Regions from separate parts of the Homo sapiens genome. Here region 2 is linked to region 1. The links are contacts of gene promoters, found by promoter capture Hi-C in blood cells and fetal thymus (Javierre and others, 2016). All regions are on one chromosome and are shown on one strand. The core of a region is centred on a gene start or on the middle of the fragment in contact, and the rest is flanking DNA. Distances in the headings are between cores, read along the strand shown. Region 1 holds the start of PER2 (period circadian regulator 2). Region 2 overlaps LOC105373960 (a long non-coding RNA gene).

Region 1 (6,169 bases), core at 465-2,964:
CGTGGCTCACAGGAGAACATTACTTGGCCCAAAGGCAAGAGCATATCAGAAGCCTCTGTCTCCTGCGAGAAACCTGGGAAAAATCATCTGTAGGGTAACAGAAAACCAAAAACCTGGGAATTAAAGTAGACCTCTGAGACTGCCCAATCTGAGCCCCTCCAAACAAACAAGGAAACTGAGGCCCAGACTGGGAGCCAGCAGCAGCCAGCTGGCTGACACAGGGCTCCCCCTTCCCACCTGGCACTCCAGTCTCCACAGAAAGCCAGGGCTGCGTTAGTTCTGTACCAATGAATCATACCAAGGCGACAGTGACAGATAACTGCAAACACCCACGGTGCCATCCCCGCGCTGGCACACCACACAGCTTCCACTCAAAAAAAACGGAGTCCCTTTCTTCATTATAGTCATATAGCACACAAAAATCAATTCACCTTGTATTTTAAAACTCAATTTCCAAATAAAGCCTTCAGGTAGAGTCCTGTTTTCTTCTCAGGCACACCCAGCCTGGGACCAGAAGCCCCAGGTGGGGGTAGAGGGTGGGCCAAGAAGTCTAGCAGTCCTGCTGTGCCATATACAGGTGAGAGGCGTCCATGTGGGGCTTTAGCCACCGTGTGGGGTTCTTAACACATTTCCCGGACTTAAGGCCCTTCCTCCCAAATTCCAGCCCACCCAGGATTCAGCACGCAAGTGGAGGCCATCACTGAACCTCTGAAGCTCATCCTGCCCCAGGACGATGGGAAGATCCTGCAGACAGCCTGGGCCTGGGCCTCAGTTTGCTCATCTGTCAGGCTGAGGGGTTACTCTGGGTGATTTTCAGGGTGCCTTCTGGCTCTGTTGTTCTGTATGAATCAGCTTTCCAAACGGGTTCCTTCTGTGTAGGTTACAGAAACCCTGGCAACCAACTCGTCATCCCTTACCCTGGCCTTCCTGAAGGGGGAAGCAGGCCACCTCCCACCCCCTGGTCTATGTCTGGGACTTGGCAGCCAAAGTACATCCCAGAAGGTAGGCGCGACTGCTGCACCAAAGAGTGGACACCCCCATTCCCTTCTATCCAGTCCGGGGAAAGGGAATTAATACAGGGTGGTCCAGGGGAGGCAAAGGGGCGAACATTAGAGGGTCTCCCCGCCCTCAGGTTCCCAGGCCTGGCTTGGCACCGGGACTTCCTTGTCCCTCTGATCACCCATTCCAGGAGACCCGTGGGTGTCCAGGAAAAGCTCCTAGATCAGCGCCCCTCCATGGCCCTTCCCCAGCCCAGGACTTAGCCCTGTGGCCTCAGAAGAGGCAGTCAGCTCCCCGAGGGTCCTCCAGATCCCAGGGCCGGCTGCGCTGACCCTTGGTTTCCTTGGCCTTCCCCATGCGAGGGGAGGGAGGGTTCCCAAAAGAGAATCGCCCACGGAACCGCAGCCCGCGCGCAGTCACTCGGTAGCTCGGTGCCCTACACACGCTGCCTCACCTTTCGGACCTCAGGCTCCTGAGCTGCGAAGCGGGGGTTCGAGTCCCCAACCCTCGGTGTCACCGCAGTTCAAACGAGCGCACCCTGCGCGCGGCTCGACCACTCTCCACCTGGGACAGGGCCAAGGGCACACGCCCCCACGCCGGCGCCGTTTCAAGCCGAGGAGTCCAGCAGCCCAAGGAACTTCCGGCGGCGCCTCCGCTGCCCGAGCCGGCGCTGGGACCCCGACCTGCCCGAGGCCCGCGCGCCGGCGGCGGTTACGTAAGCCGCAGCGGGGCCGCGCCGCGCCACTTACCGCCGGCCGCGCCCGCGTCAGCCCGTCCGCCGGTCCCTCCGCCGACTCGCGGCTCTGTCCGCCCGGCCCCGCGCCCGCCGCCGCCGCCCACAGCTGCACGTATCCCCTCAGCGCCGCCGCCTCCGCCGCGGCCGAGTCGCCGCTGTCACATAGTGGAAAACGTGACCGCGCGCGCCGCGCCCGCCCCCGGCCTCCGCCATTGGCCGCGACTCCGTCTCATCTGCATACATGAGGGGCGGGGCCTACGAACGCCGCGCGCCCATTGGTGGCCGCGCCCGTCGCTCTTTTTACATAAGACGCACATGGAACTCCATGTTCACCTCGTCGGTTCCTCAATGGAGACGCGGCGCGTTCGTGCTACCCGTCGTCCTCCCTAGTGGTCTCATCCACTTCCGGCGTCGGCGCCTTCCATTCACTACGCCCTCAAGCCCGCCAGCTCGGGGAGCGCGGAGTGGCGCGTACCATTGCGGGCGGGGGAGCTGGGCGCGGGGCTCCTGCGCACCTCCGGCCGGCCTGGCAGACCCGGCGCGCCGAAGCCGGACGAGGGAGACCTCCACCTCCGGCCACCGGCCAGAGGCGCGCCCCCAGCGGCCAGGGCCGCGGGAAAGTCCGCGCGGCATGCTTCATTCACGCATTCACATTCATTCATTTACTCATTCACTCACTCATTCATCGCGGGGCCCCGGAGCAGCCCAGGAGAAGGTGGCAGCACCGCCCTGCAGCAGCTCCGGGGGCACGCCCACCCGGGCCTCTGAGGTGCCTGTGGTCGACACTTGTCCCGGCAGCTACCAAGTGACCTTTCTTATTTTTGAGACCACGTGTTGCAATTTTTGGTTCAGGAAATAGAGTCATTGTTACTCTGGGGAGGTACAAAAGAAAGAAATGATGTTGTCCCTGCCCCCAAGCGCATCACTAGGGAGAAAGGACTATCTCATAAAAAGGAAACTTAATCAAATGCTAAATTGGGCGATGTGGGCTATAAATTAACCAGAGCTATCCCCACAGGCTCCGTGAGAAAGGCAGCACTTCCAAGGCGGGTAAGATGGGCCCTGAGAAAGGGACGCCTTACAACGGTGCAAGCCGTAGAGACGCAGGAGCCAGGGGTAGGAGGTTGTCCTGGGAGACAGCGCGGGACCCTGCATCACCTTGTTTCGGTAAGCATTGTGTGGGGCATGTGGAGCCTCTAAACTTCCATTTAAAGTGTCAGGAGAAAGAGTACAATTTCCCCGGGTCTGGGTAGAAGCCTGAGACTTACAGGACAGGAAGGAGCTTTCAGGCTCCCACGCAGCAGGCTCTGAATGTGTAGGCTCTCATGGGGAAGGCGAGACTGTCCAAGAAGCTGGAGCCCGCAGCATCTCTCTTTACTCTTCTTGTTCTTCTTTACCTGGACTCACCTGGGGACCAGGGATGGGACAGAAGGAAAAGTTATGAACCCACATCAGGAATTCCTGAGTGTGATAACTCCTTCTCTTCTACTTGACAAGGTGTGTGTGCAACTTCTCAGATGCAAACCAGGGCAAATACCAAGTTCATCGGGGCAGCCCTTCCCACAGAAGCCCCGGGAGGCCTGCATGCTGTTCACACACTCAGTCAGGTGGCCCCTCCTCCTGTTCCTCTGACATTGACACCTCGACACACTCCCCGCCCCCTCTCCCTAACACATACACACACAAATGCCAAGCAAACCCAGGCCCGGCTGCTGCGCCCTGCACACACCCAAAGGCTCTTTTGTTTCTTCCCTCCCATTGACGTCAATGGGGAGCTCCATTGTTCTGGAAACAAGAGTAAACAGACAGCTCATCCACACCTTACCGAGATTCTTCTTCATGCTTTTGCTGGGTCTTGCTCCATATTCAGCCTGCTACCTGATGTCACATTTCCTCCCTAAATGTAGCCTTTTTTATTTCCACCAATAAATCTGGTAGAAATATATTGAAATCAATTCTTTTAGAAATTATCAAGTGCTTTGGGCTCTAGGACTCTTCAGAATCTCATCTATTTTCAGTGATTCACAGCCAGTTTCTTCTTTCCTATTATTGGAAATTTGTGTACACTCCACAAATACTTGTTGACACCTGAGTGTTGAGGGGCATGCAAAAATACATCTCACTGCATCCCTGCTTGTAAGGAGTTGGTGATGTAGAAGGGGGGAGGAGGCAGATTCAGAGGCAATTTTGTCTAAGTTGTGGTGTGTAGGTCCTGAGGGAATAGGACAGCCATGGACAGAAGCCTCCATCCCAGCTCCAACAGAGGACAGCGCTCAGGGGATGAGCTCCTACAATCAGGCCAAGTGCATGGATGCCATTCTTGCTGAACCAAGATGGTGACAGAGAGAGAGCGCAAATTGGGGCAGTCAGATTGGAGAAGGAAGGGGGATGAACCCTTTCCTAGCCAGCCCACACTGGCCAGCTGTCACCTCCAGCACGGAGCTCAGAGCTCTTGGATAGGGGAATTGCTGTTGGCACTGTGGGAGGCAGGCTGGCTAGGAGACAGCTAGTCCTTTAGTTGGGGGTGGAGGTGGAGTGGTAAGCCAGGGTCCCCACCTACCTTGGGAATGCTGCCAGTGGGAGGAGCTGGCCTCCCAGCTAAAGGCTGCTTGGCCCCTGCTCCACCCACTCCCACCAGCCTGTTTCCACCAGTAAGCCTGGCCCAAGTTGGCCCACCCATCTATGTCTGGGCCTGCCTGTAGGGCCTCTCTGCACCCAGGCCTCCATGCCCTTGCCAGTCCACTCACTGGCCCTCTCATTCACTCATGCACCCAGCCAATTGTTTACTGAGCAACTACTATGTACCAGGCAACTGTGCTGATCACTGCTTCCTCTCATTGTAGGTGGCATGGTTTGCGGGTTGGCTAGCTGGAGGGCCAAAGGACAGGCGGCTAGGAAGAGAATTCCCTCTGCAAATGGAGGAGGTGGTGGCCAGCAAAGTCTCTCTAAAGAGATGGAGGGGACACTGTCAAGCTTTCTGGCCCCCTAGTGCTGGAGCCCCTTTCTTGGGCCTAGGGACATTGGAGATGATAATGCCCAACCCTTACTCTCCAGCCTCCCTTGAACCCAGCGCTGACCTACGGCTGACCCCAGCTTGGCATGGTGGCAGCTCCTGGCAGGGAGACCCTCAGCCAGCTCACAGAGGTGACCTCAAGGGCGCGGGCACCTGTGTCCAGGGTCTCAGGGTGAGACAAGGACAACTTGCCTCTAGTGACCCGAGGGCAGGTGCCTGTCCCTGGACATGAGGTGGTTTGCGGACCGGTATAAAGAAAGTATCTTCCAGCTCTTTGGGAGGCCAAGGTGGGAGGATTTCTTGAACCCAGGAGTTTGAGAACAGCCTGGGCAACATAGTGAGACACTGTCTCTACAAAAAACAAGAAAGCCAGGCATGATGGCATGTTCCTGTGGTCCCAGCCACTTGGGAGGCTGAGGCAGGAGGATCCCTTGAGGCCAGGAGTTCGAGGTTGCAGTGAACTGTGATTGCATCACTGCACTCCAGGCTGGGCAACAGAGCAAGACTGAGATCCTATCTTTTCAAAAAAAGAAGAAGGCATCTTTATCATGCTAGCTACCTACTGAGAAGGCTTTTTGATTTTTAAACTAAATATAGATCCAGGGAGGCTGTTCTTTGTTTAGGGGAGACATGTGGGTGTGATGTGCACACACGTGTTCTCATATGTCTTCCCCAAGGAAGTCACAAGATTGAGCCATCCACGATGGGTGTGCAGTCCCCATCTTTCTTCGCCTCACCCTGGAGAAGAGCCTGGGGAAAGGAGCTTGCTTGGAGCCTGGAATGTAAGCATCCATGTCCCAATGGCTCCTTTGCAAAGGATGCCCTAGAGATCACAGAGCTGGTGGCACAAGCTAGGACCCGCATTTGATGTGGAATAGAATGGTGAGAGTGGGCATCCTTGGCCCGTTCCACCCTGGGGGAGGAAGTGTTCAGTATTTCACCACCAGGTATGATGAGCCTTAGATGTTTGTTTTTTTATAAATGTCCATTGCCATATATTCTAATTCGCTAAGATTTTTGTTTTTCTTTTTTATAGATGTCCATTGCCATATATTCTAATTCGCTAAGATTTTTGTTTGTTTTTCTTTTTCTTTCTCTTTTTTTTTTTTTTTAAGACAGAGTCTCACTCTTTCGCCCAGACTGGAGTGCAGTGGCATGATCTCGGCTCACTGCAACCTCCGCTTCCTGGGTTCAAGAGATTCTCCTGCCTCAGCCTCCTGAGTAGCTTGGATTACAGGCGCACGTAACCACACCCAGCTAATTTTTGTATTTTCAGCAGAGACAGGGTTTCATCATGTTGGTCAGGCTGGTCTCGAACTCCTGACCTCGTGATCCGCCCGCCTCGGCCTCCCAAAGTGCTGGGATTACAGATGTGAGACACCCCTCCCAGCCTTGTTTTGCTTTTTTTTTTTCATCATACA
Region 2 (5,698 bases), core at 2,638-5,137, 360 kb before region 1:
TTTTTAGTAGAGACAGGGTTTCACCTTCTTGGCCAGGCTGGTTTCCAACTCCTGACCTCAAGCGATCCGCCCGCCTTGGACTCCCAAAGTGCTGGGATTACAGGTGTGAGCCACTGTGCCTGGCCTGTTTTGTTTATTGCTATTTATAAATAACGCTCTGATGTGCACTTCCATAATACAAATGTTTAGAAATAGAATATTTGGGTCAAGGAGATCCCTAGGCTCTGCGTAGCTGTTGCCATATCCCTCGCGCATGTTTGCATCTCCCCGACACACCAGTATTGATGCAAGTTTCTGCTTACTCCAGTACTTTAGCCAGAACTTTAGCCAGAACTGGGTATTAACTTTAACAGCTGGATCAGGAAAAGATGCTCCCAACTGCAGTTTTCATTACACACATCTGATTACAGCAAGGCCAATGTTTTCCCCACGGGTGTGGTCATAGGAAGTCTTCTTTGGTGAATTACTGCACAGGCCTGTGGCCCATGTATAAGTTATGACACTCTTCATAACAGCAGTCTGCCCCCGCAAGTTTAGGAACTTATGCACAAAAGGCCCCTGTTTTCTTGAGTATTTTCGCATGCATATTCATAAGCCAGTCTGTAGTCATTTTGCAGGGAAGGAGTCTATTTTGATCAGGCTAATTGTTTTGTATTTTTAGTAGAGATGGGGTTTCACCATGTTGGCCAGGTTGGTTTCAAACTCCTGGACTCAAATGATCCACCCACCTCGGCCTCCCAAAGTGCTGGGATTATAAGCGTGAGCCACCTCGCCTGGTCAAGAATGTATATTCTACCTCACACCATATGTGAAAATTAACTTGAAATGGGTCAAAGGCCTAGATGTAAGTTTAAAACTCTTAGAAGGAAACATAGGTATAAATCTTCATGACCTTGGGTCAGGCAATGGTTTCTTAAGTATGAAACCACAAGCACAAGCCACAAAAGGAACAAATAGATAAATTGGACTTCATCAAAACTTAAAACTTTTTTGCATCAAATGACTCCATCAAGAGAGTATTTCTGTGCAGCTGCTGAGGCAGAAAGAAAAAGAAAGTAAAAAGGCCAGGTGCAGTGGCTCACACCTGTAATCCCAGCACTTTGGGAGGCCGAGGCAGGCAGATTGCTTGAGCTCAGGGGTTTGAGACCAGCCTTGGTAACATGGTGAAACCCCATATCTACAAAAAATACAAAAATTAACCGGGCGTGGTAATGTGTGCTTGTAGTCTTAGCTACTCGGGAGGCTGAGGTGGATCACCTAAGCCCTGGAGGCGGAGGTTGCAGTGAGCCAAGATTACTCCATTGCATTCCAGCCTGGATGACAGAGTGAGACCCTGTCTCAAAAAAAAAAAATTATATATATATATATATATATATATATATATATATATGCCAGCACTCCTCAAAACTGTCAAGATCATAAAAACAAAAGAAGTCTGAAAAACTGTCACAGCCAAGAGGAACTCAAGGAAACATGACAACTGAATGTCATGTGGTATCCTGGATGGGCTCCTGAATATAAAAAGAATATTAGGAAAAAACTAAGGAAATAGGAATAAAATATAAGCTTTAGTTAACAATAATGCATTTGAATAGTGGTTTATTAATAGTAACAAATGTACCTTATTCACATAAAATGTTAGTGATAGAGTTAACAGTGTGGCGTATATGGCAGCTCTCTGTACTCTATTTGCAACTGTTCTGTAAATCTCAAACTGTTCTAAAATAAAATGTTATTTTAAAAAGATAAAAACAGTGGCTGTCCCTGTTCCATCAGTTTGGTGAGTCAGTGTCCCTGTAGGTTGTAGAATGAAAATACCCAACACTGAAATTCAAACGCAACACAGATGATTGTGGAGGTGGTTCAAAAGACAGTAATTTGAATATCAAAGTTTCTAGAGACGCACTGGAGAAAACCGATCAAGTACTTTTGCAAAAATGACCCTCTTTCTTGAGAAGGCCAAACACGCTGGGTAGGAGTTCACATGGAGCTGTCCAGCCTCCTGGCCGCTGAAACCCTGATCAATACTTGATGGATTCTTTGTTCTAGAATGGGCAGGTGGCACCAGGAAGATGATGGGTCTTCACCCCTGGAGCTGCACCAGAGCTCAACCTATGACAACCTGGCTCAGCCTATGACAACCTATGAACACCCTGTGCTCTTCCTAGGAAGGATCAGGAGAAACACCAGGACCCCAAACCCCCAGAGCTAAAAGATGGCACCAGGCTCTAAGTAGAAACCCATGGGATGAAGACCAAAGCCACTGATACCTCTGGCTCTCCCCAGGGAATTCCATGGTTACAGGTGTGCACCCCACACCTGATCCCACCAGAGGCTGGAAGAGGAAAGGGGCGGGATGGGGGCTAGGGGAAGTAGGCAGGTAGGGCAGGGCAGTCCATCTTTTGCAAGTAGCAATGGATCTCTCTCCAGGAGGCAGAGAACTAGCTCTGGGGCAGCCTCTTTCTGTGCTTTGGGAGATCCACTTTGAGGGTTACAAACCCTCAAAGCTGCTCCTACAAGTCTTCTTGGGCAAACTGGGACTTTGGCATGGCTGGCAGTGTTACCAAAACACCAGGAATTTGGTCTAGGTCCTAGTGCTTGCCACGCCCATCACTGAAACCACAATTATTGCCCTGGAAGAAGGCTTTAATTGGGTGCTGCAGCCAAGGATTTGGGGTATACGTCTCAAATCCATCCCGACTGACTACAGTTAGGGGTTGGTACAGCAGAAACGTAACCACATGCAGGAAAGCAGGAATTAGGGAGGGGTAAGGAAGAGGAGTCAGTTAACAGGGAGCAGGTGGCCAGTTAGGCAGTCATCAGAGGTGAGGGGTTTGGCTTCTCATTGTCCAAATGCAGTGACTGGTGAGTTTCAGCTTCTTGATACTATCTGGGAGGCCAGCTGCTTGGTCTCCTGAGAAAGGAGCTCAGAAAAAACAAACATAACTTTCTCAAATTTCAAGACTGGGAGGCGCAATTTCTATGTTTACTCAAAATAAACTATAAACATCAGTCTTGATTTGTTTTGTTTTGTTTTGAGACAGTTTCACTCTGTTGCCCAGCCTAGGGTGCAGTGACACCGTCTTGGCTCGCTGCAACCTGGGTTCAGGTGATTCTCACGCCTCAGCCTCCCAAGTAGCTGGGATTACAGGCGCACACTACCACACCTGGCTAATTTTTTTTAGTTTTTGCATTTTTAGTAGAGACGGGGTTTCGCCATGTTGGCCAGGCTGGTCTCGAACTCCTGGCCTCAAGCCCACCTCAGCCTCCCAAAATGCTGGGATTACAGGCGTGAGCCATTGCACCTGGCCTATAAACATCAGTTCTATGGGACAATCGGGTGGGTTTCGGCAGGAGCCTTCCAGGTTCTGGGGTGTAATTGACAGGGACTTGGCTTTGTCACCACAGAAAGTGAGAGTCGATAGCTTCAGCTGTGCATGAATTGAGACCATCTTGACCTTGAACCGAGGCTTTTTCTAGAAGATCATTTGAATGTTTTTTCCTGGGCGGGTGAGGCAGGGAACCACGCATCCACCAGTACAAAACACAATCACGAACTAACAAGCACAGCGCAGATCTGTAAATACTGATGTGGAATTAACCCCACAAAATTCTGTTAGGTGAAAGGAACATAAAAATAATCGAATTTGTCCACTGAAATTTTCTAGCAGGTCAAACGAGAAACAACATTGGTTGACTCAGAGGAAAGTTACTGGGGTACTGGTTAGGAAGGAAATTTGTGTATCCTCTTTTTTTGTTGTTTTTGCTGAGATGGGGTCTCCCTCTGTTGCCCAGGCTGGAGTGCACTGGCACAATCTCAGCTCACTGCAACCTCTGCCTCCTGGGTTCAGGTGATTCTTGTGCCTCAGCCTTCTGAGTAGCTGGAATTACAGGTGCATACCACCATGCCCATCTAATTTTTGTTTTTGTGTGTTTTTTTTTTTTTTTTTTTTTTTTGAGACGGAGTCTCACTCTGTCGCCCAGGCTGGAGTGCAGTGGCATTATCTTGGCTCATTGCAAGCTCCGCCTCCCAGGTTCATGCCATTCTCCTGCCTCAGCCTCCCAAGTAGCTGGGACTACAGGTGCCTGTCACCACGCCCAGCTAATTTTTTTCCATTTTTTAGTAGAGACGAGGTTTCACCGTGTTAGCCAGGATGGTCACGATCTCCTGACCTCGTGATCTGCCCTCCTCGGCCTCCCAAAGTGCTGGGATTACAGGCGTGAGCCACCACGCCCCGCCTTTAATTTTTGTATTTTTTAGTAAAGACAGGGTTTTGCCATGTTGGCCAGGCTGGTCTCAAGCTCTTGGCCTCAAGTGACCCACCCACCTTGGCCTCCCAAAAGTGTTGGGATTATAGGCATGAACCACCATGCCCGGCCACGTTACGATTTTTAAAGTCTAACCTAACCAAACTGTCAGAAACTTAAAATGACAACACTTTCATTCCAATTAATTGTACTAGAATGTTCCAAGCAAATATCCCCTTCCTTCCCCAGGCCAGGGCCCAGCCATGCCTCCCACTCCTCCAGGCTGCTGGGCTAGTTGCTGGGTCCTGGGGTGGCCCACAGGGACTTTGCCTACTGTAATTTCCACCAGCACCCCCAAGCCACCCCAGCTAAACACACAATTGAAGTACAAATAGCATGTTCACCATCTGAAGACGAGTCACCTATTTTCTGCTTCCAACTGGACTGTGTTCTCAAGACCCCCTGCATTCATTTATATCGCTGGGTAACATATTTCCCGGCTGGTGAGAAGTCCCGGCGTGGCCCAGCTATGTCCTCTGAGATGGCAGGGTCTCATGAGGCTGTCACCAGGTGTCCGCTGGGTCACATCCTCCTCTTGCAGATGCAGGAGGCAGACACATGCCTAGGCAGATGGGGCAGAACCCCAGTGAAACCCTACCTCCAAGACAAAGACAGTTTAAAACCTGAAAGCCAAGCTACAAGTCAAATCCACGGACCAGATTGAGAACCCGTCTTCCCGTTTGGTGCACTTTCCTCTGATTGATCCCCACCCTTCACCTATTTTACAGAAACCTACCCTACCCTAATTGGTTTTTTACACTGTCATGCCCACCTTTGAGCAGTGCCTTTGTTTTAACCTTTTTTGCATACTCACAAACCAATCAGCACACACTCCCCATTCTGAGCCTATAAAATCCCAGACCCAGCCACACTGAAGGAGAGACCACCCAACTTAGAGTGGAGGACAACCCTTGCATCCCCTCTCCACTGAGAACTTTTCCATCACTCAATACAGTTATTATCTGCCCTCCTCATCCTTCGATGGTCAGGGTAACCTCATTCTTCCTGGACATGAGACAAGAGTTCAGGAACCACCAAATGTGGGTAGGAGCTATAACACAGGCAGGCTGGGGCACACATGGCCCAGCTACGGGCTGAGCTGGTGCACAAGCTCAGTGCAGCCCAGTGGACTGAATGGGTGGGGCATGTGACCAAGGGGCCCTGGCTTTTGCTGGCCTCTGACTGAAGGTCCCCCTCAGGTCCTTGTTAGTGGTTTTTTGTTAGGTGAACTTATAACATAACACGGTCCTTATTTCATCAAGCCAGGAAGGAGAATCTCCAATGTGTGCTGGTAAGATGGAGGCTTGTCTAGGTATCTATAGTAACTCAGTCATGGGAGTGACATCCTGTCACCTGTGCTATATTCTACTGGTTATAAGCAAGTCACAGG

The links. The method cuts DNA at HindIII sites, captures the fragments that hold promoters and counts their contacts. A CHiCAGO score of 5 or more calls a contact.
Region 2: a fragment that was not itself captured here is called in contact with the fragment with the promoter of PER2 in region 1 in 2 of 17 cell types (fetal thymus and neutrophils); the score reaches 6.9 in fetal thymus.

Annotation. Positions count from the first base shown.
Region 1 is chr2:238,286,896-238,293,064 of GRCh38, forward strand. PER2 (period circadian regulator 2) reads right to left here and starts at 1,715. Exons shown (of 23, transcript NM_022817.3): 1 at 1,454-1,715. LOC112268433 (a long non-coding RNA gene) reads left to right here and starts at 974. Exons shown (of 3, transcript XR_002959458.2): 1 at 974-1,002. RefSeq lists enhancers at 653-1,175, 1,260-2,154, 3,229-3,278 and silencers at 1,703-1,852, 2,193-2,462. The HindIII fragment of the contact is 4,985 bases long and covers 1-4,706 here.
Region 2 is chr2:237,925,364-237,931,061 of GRCh38, forward strand. All of the region lies in intron 1 of LOC105373960 (a long non-coding RNA gene), which reads right to left. Among named protein-coding and RNA genes, the nearest start is that of UBE2F-SCLY, 39 kb to the right of the region's middle. The HindIII fragment of the contact is 4,646 bases long and covers 1,565-5,698 here.